Regions from separate parts of the Homo sapiens genome. Here region 2 is linked to region 1. The links are contacts of gene promoters, found by promoter capture Hi-C in blood cells and fetal thymus (Javierre and others, 2016). All regions are on one chromosome and are shown on one strand. Each heading gives the region's core, a stretch centred on a gene start or on the middle of the fragment in contact. The rest is flanking DNA. Distances are from core to core; before and after follow the strand shown.

Region 1 (4,863 bases), core at 2,302-4,801:
AATATGACCTGATTCTGAGTAGTTTGAAGATCATTCCAATGATCTTCACCAACTACCAGCTGTCCTTAAATACAGTCCCTCATAGGATGCACAAAAGAGCCTGGGTTGGAGGGTCAGCCCTGGGAAGCTTGGGGTGGTCTGCAGATCTTGTCAGAAGATGGCAGTCCTGTAGATGAGGAAGGAAGAGGCCAGAGGTGAGGAGCAGTTAATGGTAAATATCAGAAACTAGAGAGTGATGTGGAACGAATAGGAGGAGGCATGGCGCACACGTGCTGGGTCCTGTCGTGTGTGAACCTCATCTAATAGTGTGCACTTCAGTGAGATGAGAATATTTCACTAAAGAAACAGGCTTCGCTCAACACCTCTCAAAGAGACGTGAGCCAGCCAAATACAGGGAACGGTGCTAAAGTGAAGAGTAGGGGGAAAATACATTTAGGGTCATTAACAAGCAGTTGCTGAAATCTGGAATATATACATCTTTTAAAGATTTAACAGTTTTTAAATCTTAACATGTAAAACCTGTGGTATAGAACCAACCCTCCACCTCACACATACGCTGTATTTACATTTAGATATCTTTCATCTCCAGTGGTCTCTGGCAGTCTCTAAATCTTTCCTTGTTTTTCGGGACCTTGACATTTTTGAGTACTGCTTAGGTATTTTGTAGACTGTTGCTCAATTTGGGTTTGTCTCACAATTGGACTAAGCTTATGGATTTTGGGGAAAATCACAAAGGTGAAGTGCCCTTCTCATCACATCATTTCAGGGAGCATCAGCATGACTTCTTCCTGGTGTCGTTCACCTTGATCACTTGATGAAGGCAGTGTCTGCCAGGCTCTTCACTATCAACTTCATAATTTTCCATGTTCATGCTGTGTTCACTATAAGTGAGTCACACACTCCAGCTCATAGTCAAATGCAAAGGAATTAATCTCCACCTCTGGGGGTGGGAGTATAATCCAATAATAAGTCGTTTGTTTTCTTGCTTAAATTGTTCTAGCTTTGGCCGTTGGGAATTGTTTCAGGTCACCTCCTGTGTCCCTTTGAGGTGCGCTGGTTCTTTTGGAGCACTTCCTTTCTGGCACTACAAGATGGTCCAGACTCATCTTTATCTTCTCTGCCCCAGCCCCAAAATCATCCATTTCAACAAGGTTCCCACTGGTTTAGAAACCAAGATCTGGGTGCTGGGTGTGCTTATTGCTCCTGGGGTGTCACTGCTTCTAGGCCCTCTCAGCAGACAGAGCTAGGAAGTATATATGTGTATACTAACCTGTATACACTGTATAATTGTATATCCATCCAGACATCTCTACAGTTATTTCTGTATCTCTCCATCTGTACATACATTAAATTAAGCATGGGTCCATACTGATGTCTCCAACTAACCCAGTACTACAAGGTTCATTCTAGCCTTCTTCTCACGCTTTTCTGTAACTTCTCTCCCTGACAATGAGAAAACTGGCTTGTACCATCCGCCATCTGCTTAGCTGTTCAATCCTAGTCTATTTGTAAAGCAGTTTCCAAATCATTAACCCATACCCCTGGGAGAAACAAATTTACCAACTAAGGTACAGAGTTTATGTATCTTTCCTATTGTCTCATAGTTTCCAGTCAAATACCATTTCCCAAAATTACTTGGGTTAGCTCTTTGAAATTAGCTTACTACTCTCTTGAAGATTTTTCAAGTTAAAGCAGGCATGGATAGTTTTAAGGACATTTCCAGGTACTCAGCTTCCATATATACTGTATTCCATACCTCTTAGTCATCTTCAATCTTGGCATTGCCCAAGGGCATAAACATTTCAAAACCATCAAACAAAAAAAACTTGAAATTATGTACAGTTACTGAGAGACTGGATAAGTATTGGATAATAAATCCTTTTCAAAATCAGAATGGCTTATGGGGTTTTGCTTTTAATAAAATTTCAGAAGACTAATGGAATTATCAGTTCATGATTATAAACCAGTTTTGGTGACAGATTACTATATGATTCTTGAGATACAACTAGACAAAAATTGAGGGACACTTTTAACAAAACTTTTCATTCCTATGTACTTATTTCTCAGCACTTACAGCCTTAAGAAAATGGAAGAGAATCAGTGTTAAACTTCATTGTAGCAAGAAGTTAGCATTCATCTATGGATACAGGAACTAACGGTGCATGGGAAGCCCATCCAGGTCTTAAAGAGATGAATTTTCAATACAATTTTATTTTTTATATTTAATAATTATCAGTATTGTGATACATTTTATTGTGATCAATTGTGTAGTACTAGTAATTTTAACAATTTAATCCAGAAAAACTAAAATTCTATGAGCAGGAAATATAAATTTCCATTTCTGTACTTCTTTCAGCAGTATGATAGGATGATCAATAAGACTTTCAAGTATGAAAAAGATAACGGGTAAAATTCTATCAGGAAAGTAGAATGAAGATATGATTTAATGAAGCATGTCTAAGAATTCTAGGGAAGAAATTTGGGTGTGGTCACTGACACGTGTAATTAAACAAAAACAAGTAGATCATATACCTACTAATATTTTGAGGGAATTTCACTGCCAAAGAAACTAACATTGGATATTCCAACTGCTAAACAACTTTTGGACTCCTGCTACGGGCTGCATTCACCCCCGCCGCGGCCACCCCCAATTCACACACTGAAATCTAACACCAATAACTAATAATGAGACTATATTCGGAGACAGAGACTTTAAAGATGCAATTAGATCAAAATGAGGCCTTTAGTTCAGCCCTAATCCAACTTGACTAGAGTGCTTACAAGAAGAAGAAATTTTTTGTGGCAGGGACGGGGAGGGGGCGGCGGAGAGATGATTTTAAGAAGGAAGAGTAATGATGTAAACTTAGGATTTTTAAGAGTTTTTTGTGGGTTTTTTTTGTGTGTGTGTGTGAGGTGGACGATGGAGGGTACCATATTACTGTAGTGTTTCGATTCAGTTGGATATATTTAACTTGCGTCACTATTTACAATTGCTGAAAATTACATTTTTTTCAACTACTTAAACATTTTAGACAGCAGCTTGATGTGCAAATCCAGAATGGGGCAGGGTGGGATGAGCACTGGGCGTGAGTGCAGACGCTTGGGCAGCGCCGGTTTCGTTAGAAAGTCCCTTGGCAGGCCGCCGCTGTGGCCCAAAGAGTAGGAAGCCGTTCCAGTCTCACGTCCACCTTTTGGCAATATTTGAGACCTTGTACAAGAAACACTCTTCCTGTATCAGTTTAGCTCATTTGTAAAACTGGGAGACTACTGCCTTGACGGGTTGTAAAGAAAAGAGAGAACGTTTGCGAAGCGTCTGGTGCACCTTAAGCAAGAGCGGGGAGCGCTACTGTAGACTGCAAAGCAAAGGAATCCCGACCCAAGGCAACGGGACGGTTGCGGGGTGACTCTGCCGGGTCTCCAAACTCCCTGGCGCCTGACCCTGCCTCGAGGTGGACTGGTCCCCAGGCCATTCCAGACCCGCGCCCCGCCCGCGTTTCCTTGCGCGGCTCCGCCCCGGCCGCAGGGAGGCGCAGCGGCCCCGGGAACCCGGATCCTTCCGGGACGCTTCGTTGGCCCCGCGGAGCCGGCGGAGCAGGTACGCTTGCAGGGGCCGCCCTTAGTTCTTGCCCGGAGCCGCCACAGGGCTTCGGGAGCTCGGCAGGGTGGGGGAAAGGGATGGAGTTTCGGCCTGGGGCGGCGGGGGCGGCCCAGAAAAGGCCTAGCGTCCTGGGCTGTGTGGGTGTAGCGTCCAGGGCGCGTCGGTCTCTATGGCAACGCTCCACACGCGGAGGTCGGGTACGGGTAAGCGTCTTGCCACTCACCCGCGGCCGCTTCCAGGGGCGGCCCTAGGGGAGAAGGAATTTTCCTAATTTGGGGGCTTCCACCCTTTGGTGCCACTTGGGCGGGAGGGTCGCGGGCCCTCAGTTCCCGGCGAGTCACCCCCGGCCCCAAGTCCGTATGCGTCTCTCTCAGAACCCGATCCTCCGGTGTCTGCAGCCTCTCCTGGCTGCGGAGCTGGTTCCCAGCCCCCTGCAACCCAGTACCGACTTCCCACCCTGACGTAAAATTATTCGAAAACAAGCCCCCTGCTCACCCCATTAACAACAACAACAAAACTGTATTATGCCCTAACTGTAGCATAAAGAGGAAATAGAAGGAAAGCAATAAGTAAGAAAGTACATATTTCAATCTGAAAATGCTTGGCACTACTACCCTTGGAAAATGTAGAGAAGTAGCCAGTAGCCGCGCCTGGGGAGTCGCCTGAACGTGACGGCAGCAAATGCAGATTGTTGGGTCTCCGGGACCAGGAGCAGCGTGGCCAGTGAAGCGCGTGGTTTTCCCAAATGGTGAACAATTCTTGGTAAACCTCCAAACCGAAGTGCAATCAAGCCTTGATTTACATGTAGTTGCATTCCTCGAAAAAAAAAAGAAGTGTTCATTAAAACTGCAAAAATACTTAGCATTTCGATGTAAAATAGAGTTTGGTTCTAGCCACAAACGGATTTTTCCACGCACAGGAATGTATAGGAAGACTCTCCAAGATTGTAGGGCCGCGGGGTAATCCTTTATTGTGCGGGACTGTCTCTCGAATCGCAGAATCCTACCATCTCAGGCCCCAACCACCTGTAAACCTCATGCCTCTGAATCTTGGGGAAACAGCTTCCCCACCCCCATATATTTCCAGAATTCCCCCTAGGGGGCAGTACGTCCCCACTAAGAAAGGCTGAACTATAAAAGTGCACAAGCCTAAGGACATTCCTGCTTTATAAAGGTGCGAAACACCGGATATAGTATCTTTCATTCTCAGAACAAACTTGCAAAACAGGTATTGTTATTCCATTTTAGAAATTAGGAAAGTGAGGT
Region 2 (5,792 bases), core at 461-2,960, 1.0 Mb after region 1:
TAGATGCCACTGTGAACCTTGTGTCTGCTGTGGCCCCCATGACCTGAGGAGGATTGCCTCTCTTCACTGTCTTCCAAAGCTTAGGCAAATTTCTCTCATTGGAAAATTGAGCTCAACCTGTAAAAGGCAGGAGATTCCAGGAAAGGAAGATTCAGTGAGAAGCAGATGAAAGTGATGAAAAGCTGACAACTAACAACGTAGCACAACCTGAAAGCACCTAAATTCCTACATTTACCTCCTCATTATGTAACCGCCCAGTGGATTCACCTTGTCCGCAGCCTAGACAGCCGATTTATCAAGACAGGGGAATTGCAATAGAGAGATAGTAATTCACACAGAGCTGGCTGTGCAGGAGACCTGAGTTTTATTATTACTCAAATCAGTCTCCCCGGAAACTTGGGGATCAGGGTTTTTAAGGATAATTTGGTGGGTCGGCCAGTGAATCTGGAGTGCTGATTGGTTGGCCCGGGGATGAAATTGTAGGGAGTCGAAGCTGTTCTCTTATACTGAGTCAGTTCCTGGGTGGGGCCACAGAACTGGTTGGCAGGTTCAGGTGGGGTTATTCAGTTGTTAGAAATGCAAAAACTGGAAAAGACATCTCAAAAGGTGGATCCTAGGTTCACAATAGTGATGTTACCTTCAAGAGTAAGTGGGGAAGTTGCAAATCTTATAACCTCCGGAATAATGGCTGGTAATATTTAGAATTCCAGCCCCTCTTATTCTAACTTGGTGGCTGGTAGCTTTTCATTTGTTTTACGGGGACAGTTTAGCTTTAAACTATAAACTAAATTCCTTCCGAAGGCTAGTTCAGACTACGCCCAGGGATGAACAAGGACTGTTTAGAGGTTAGAAGCAAGATGGGCTCAGTTAAGTCTGATATCTTTCACTGTCATAATTTTCTCAGTTATAGTTTTGCAAAGGTGGTTTCCATTATGTGGGACAAATTATTCATTCATGCGCTCAATAAATAGTAAGTACTTGAGGTGTGTCAGGAATTGGGTTAGGTGATAGAGGCAGATTGAACTATGTAGAAGAATTTATTCCTGCCCCATGTGAGCTGACATTGAACTAAAAGGGAGAAATGGTTTGAATACACAAACCGTGATGATGCACAGGCATTTTTAGGGCTGTTCACAAATATTCTGGCTCTCCTCCAGGCACATGCTAAGATTGTATTTCCCCACCTGCTTTGAAATTTGAAGAGACCATATGACTTGCTTTGGTCCACAAAGTGTGAGCAGAAGTGATGTGTGTAATTTGCATTTGGAAGGTTTAGGAATGATCCATGATTCACCATGCTGTCTTCCCCCTGCCATGATCAATCTGTTGAGATGAAGCTTGGGTCAGCCTTAGTCCCAAGAGGCTAAGCAGAGCCCCCAGCTGATCTGCAATAGATATGCAATATGATTGAGAAAGAAATCTGTGTAATAAGCCAATAAGAGTTTGGAGTTATTTGTTGTCACAGCAAAAGTAGCCCATCCTGACCGACCTGTAACAAGAGTGAGAACCATGAGCAGTGCTAGGGTCCCTGGGGGAGGGGAGGAACTTTTTTCAGATTGCCTTGTACGTTGGTTAATCATTCACCACGTGTGGTTTTGGCTTAGCTTGCTCTCTGGATAAGATCAAAGAAAACGGATTAGCTAGGGAGATACAGCAGTGGGCAAAACAGACCACAAGTATCAATCCATCTTTCTAATGCTATCAGAACATCTCCTTTCTCCCCCATTGTTTTCAGCATGCACTGCCCCCGCCTCTTGGTTTGACTTTAGATGACGGTGAAGTGATCACCACAAGATTGGTGAGGATAGAATAACAGTGGGTGTTTTAAAAATTGTTTCTAACATGATAATCAGAAACAAGAACAGAACTGAAGAAAAGAAATAATCAGAATAGAGATCCACAAGGCCCTGAGGATTTACCATCCAATTTTAAGACTGGTCACAGGTTATTTCAGGGGAATTGATAAGGCTCTAGCTTGATCTATCAGTCAAATCTACTTGTAGTGGGCAGGAATTCAAGCACAAAACAGCTGAGCTAGCACTTTATAACAAGATGACGGTTTAAAAAAATTTTTTAAGCTTATAAGTGCTTTCTTTTCTCTTTCTTTCTTTTCCTTTTTTTCTTTCTTTTTTTTTTTTTTCTTTTTGGAACAGTTCTTGCTCTGTCGCCCAGGCTGGAGTGCAGTGGCGCAATCTTGGTTTACTGCAACCTCCGCCTCCTGAGTTCAAGCAATTCTCCTGCTTCAGCCTCCTGAGTAGCTGGGATTACAGGCATGCACCATGATACCTGGCTAGTTTTTGTATTTTTGGTAGAGACAGGGTTTCACCATGTTGGCCAGGGTGGTCTCAAACTCCTGACCTCAAGTGATCCACCTGCCTCGGCCTCCCAAAGTGCTGGGATTACAGGCGTGAGCCACTGTGCCCAGCCCAATGCTTTCTTTTCTAATCATATATTCTGGTCATATATATTTCTGATATATATTCTTTATATATGTAAATATATATTTTCAGCATTTACATTATACCGTATTTACTATTTGTATATTTTCAACCTTCCTTTTTCTCTTAATATACTAAAAATATTTGTGTATTTAAATATTCTTTTTCTACATGACTTCAAAACAACACATTTGTGTACTTAATACATGAAATATTTATTATACAGACACGTAAAAGGGAATGTATTGTATATACTGTTTTACATTGGACTTTTTCCGCTTATTACATTGTGAATATCTTTTTACATTATTAATTATTGCTCTAAGACATCATTTTTAGTAACTGCTGTGTTCCATTATACAAGTGTAATTTATTTAGCTAATTCTCAGCTGTAGAAAATTTATGAGGCCAGTTGCGGTGGCTCACGCCCGTAATTCCAGCACTTTGGGAGGCCGAGGCGGGTGGATCACAAGGTCAGGAGTTTGAAACCAGCCTGGCCAACATGGTGAAACCCCGTCTCTACTAAAAATACAAAAAATTAGCCAGGCGTGGTGGCACTTGCCTGTAATCCCAGCTACTCGGGAGCCTGAGGCAGGAGAATCACTTGAACCCGGGAGGTGGAGGTTGCAGTGAGCCGAGACCACGCCACTGCACTCCAGCCTGGGCAGCAGAGTGAGACTCTGTCTCAAAAAAAAAAAAAAAGAAAATTTTTTTCAGGCTAGAGTACTAGAAGTGGAATAGCCAAATCAAAGTGAATGCACAATTTTAAGGATTTTGATATGTATTTCCAAAATACCCCATACAAAAGTTATTCCAATAGATGCTGTCACTAATAGCATATTAGAGTAACTTTCCCTGAAACTTTCCCCACCCTTGCAACCCCAGGTATCATTTTTCTCAAGGTCTGGTCTAACAAGTATTAAATGTGGTTTGGTTTTAATTTAAATGTCTTTGGTCGCCAGTGAGGTATGCAGTTTGGAATGATTCCACACTTCCCATGGCACCGTTCTAGGTCTCTGGGCTCTGATCTGCTTGGTGAATCCTTCGCAGTGTTCCTCAGGACAGCTGCGCGCCCTTCTGAGTGCAGGAGGGCAACTCTATCCTGCTCTCAACCCTGGGCTCAGCTACCAACCACTACAGCTTGTGTGGCTGGAGAACCCTTAAAACCCAACCACCAGGGGGCAGAAGAGGTCAGGGTTTATTATGACGGGCATTTATTTGTTTATTGAGACGGAGTCTCGCTCAGTCGCCCAGACTGGAGTGCAGTGGCGTGATCTCAGCTCACTGCAACCTCTGCCTCCCAGGTTCAAGAGATTCTCCTGCCTCAGCCTCTCGAGTAGCTGGGATTACAGGCACGTGTCACCATGCTTGGCTAATTTTTGTATTTTTAGTAGAGACAGGGTTTCACCATGTTGGCCAGGCTGGTCTTGAACCCCTGACCTCAAGTGATGCACCTGCCTCAGCCTCCCAAAGTGCTGGGATTACAGGTGTGAGCCACCTCACCTATGACGGGCATTTTACTGAAGAAGAAACCAAAGGCTTTCCCAAAATCACACAGCAATGACTGACAGAACCGAAAATAGAACCCAGGTCTTCTAACTCCACATCTGGTGCCTTTTCAGGACCTCTGAAGTTAGAGACAAATAAAGAAGGTGGGAAGTGGTGGAAACAGTCTCAAGGCATTTCTCCTTTGACAGATATTCAGATAACCATTTTTTATGATCATAAAAAGGTTGAATCTCATTTAACACATATTTATAAAGCTCCCACTACATATCTAGAAGGGCAATGTGGATACAGCAGGGAGCAAGAGCATTCACAATTCCTGCCCCGGTGGAGCTTCTCATAATGCGGCAAGGATACCCGCTTCCAGTGACACAGCTTCTGCGTTCACATCTTGGCTCTATCACACAATAGATATAGGAGGCCGGGCACATCACTTAAAAAGGTCCACTTCTAAATGTCCCCATCTCTGTGGTGGGGACAATAATCATACCTGATAGGTAAAGTTATAGGATTCAGTGAGATGACACATGTAAAAGCCCAGCATACGTAGTCAGTGCTTGCAAATATTAACCATGATTATTACTGTAATTCTCAAGTGGAACCTCTACAGATGAAACCATTTACATTATTAGTAACAATGGCAACTATTATTGAGTGACCATTTATTGAGTGCCTATAAATCAGCGCGGACTTCAATACTTTCCTAAACTTCCTTGATGGTAATAATCCTCTGGGATGCTTTCTTTTTTTTTTAAAAGGAAAAATTCCCAGATTCTCCGATCTCTTTGAGTCGGGAGTTCCTCTAGAGGGCCTTGGGAATCTATTTGTTTTTAAATTTATCATTTTAGCCATTTTTAAATGTACAATTTAGTGGCGTTAAGTACATTCACACTGTGCAGCCACCACCATCCGCCTCCAGAACTCTTTTCATCTTCCCAAACTGAAACTCTGTCCAGATCAAGCACTAACTTCCCATTTTCTCCTCTCCTCTGCCCTTGGCAACCACCATTCTTTCTGTCTCTATGAATTTCATTACTCTGGGCACCTCATATAAGTGAAATCATACAGTATTTGTCTTTTTGTGTCTGTCTTATTTCACGTCGCATCATGTCTTCAAGGCTTATCCATGCTGTAGGGTGTGTCAGAATTTCCTTCCCTTTTAAGGCTGGGTGCTATTTCATGGCAGGTATAGACCACCTTTGGTTATCTATGCATCTGTTGATGGGCATTTGGGTTGCTTCCACCTCTTGGCGATTTCCCCTCTCACTCTGTACGCCATGGCAGCAGGAAAGCATTCAATGCTTTTCTGGCTCTGCTAGAGACAAGCTGATCAGACAAACGAGGACTCTTTTTGAGCCATTCACACCCACTGATATCACCTGTGAATTCACCAGGTTTAGTGAAGGTTACTAAATTCCAAACAAACACTCTGTTCCCAGTGCACCCAGGTGTTATTGACTGAACCAGTTCTGAAACCTCTCATTTCCTCTTGATGACTTGAGGATCTGCAGCTCACTCCATGCTTGCAGCCACAGGGCGTGCCATACACCTGGGGATACTGTACACCTGGGCATACTGTACACCCAGGCATACTGTACACCTGGGCATGCCATACGCCTGGGCACACCATACACCAGGGCATGCCATACACCTGGGCACACCATACACCAGGGCATGCCATATGCCTGAGCACACTGTAGACCTGGGCATACTGTACTCTTGGGCATGCCGTACACCTGGGCACACTGTACACCAGGGCATGCTGTATGCCTGGGCACACCATACACCAGAGCATGCCATACACTTGGGCACACAGTACACCTGGGCATACTGTACCCTTGGGCATGC

Evidence for each region. Contacts are between HindIII fragments. The CHiCAGO score rates a contact against its expected background, and 5 or more counts as called.
Region 2: a contact is called between a fragment that was not itself captured here and the fragment with the promoter of NEK5 in region 1, in 1 of 17 cell types (naive B cells). The highest score is 6.8, in naive B cells.

The regions. Positions count from the first base shown.
Region 1 is chr13:52,127,761-52,132,623 of GRCh38, reverse strand. It overlaps NEK5 (NIMA related kinase 5), which reads left to right and starts at 3,551. Exons shown (of 24, transcript NM_001365552.1): 1 at 3,551-3,595. LOC101929657 (a long non-coding RNA gene) reads right to left here and starts at 3,729. Exons shown (of 2, transcript NR_110306.1): 1 at 567-3,729; 2 at 1-166. RefSeq lists an enhancer at 1-273. The HindIII fragment of the contact is 11,669 bases long and covers 710-4,863 here.
Region 2 is chr13:51,118,887-51,124,678 of GRCh38, reverse strand. It overlaps a transcript of C13orf42 not described here. Among named protein-coding and RNA genes, the nearest start is that of C13orf42, 11 kb to the right of the region's middle. The HindIII fragment of the contact is 741 bases long and covers 1,340-2,080 here.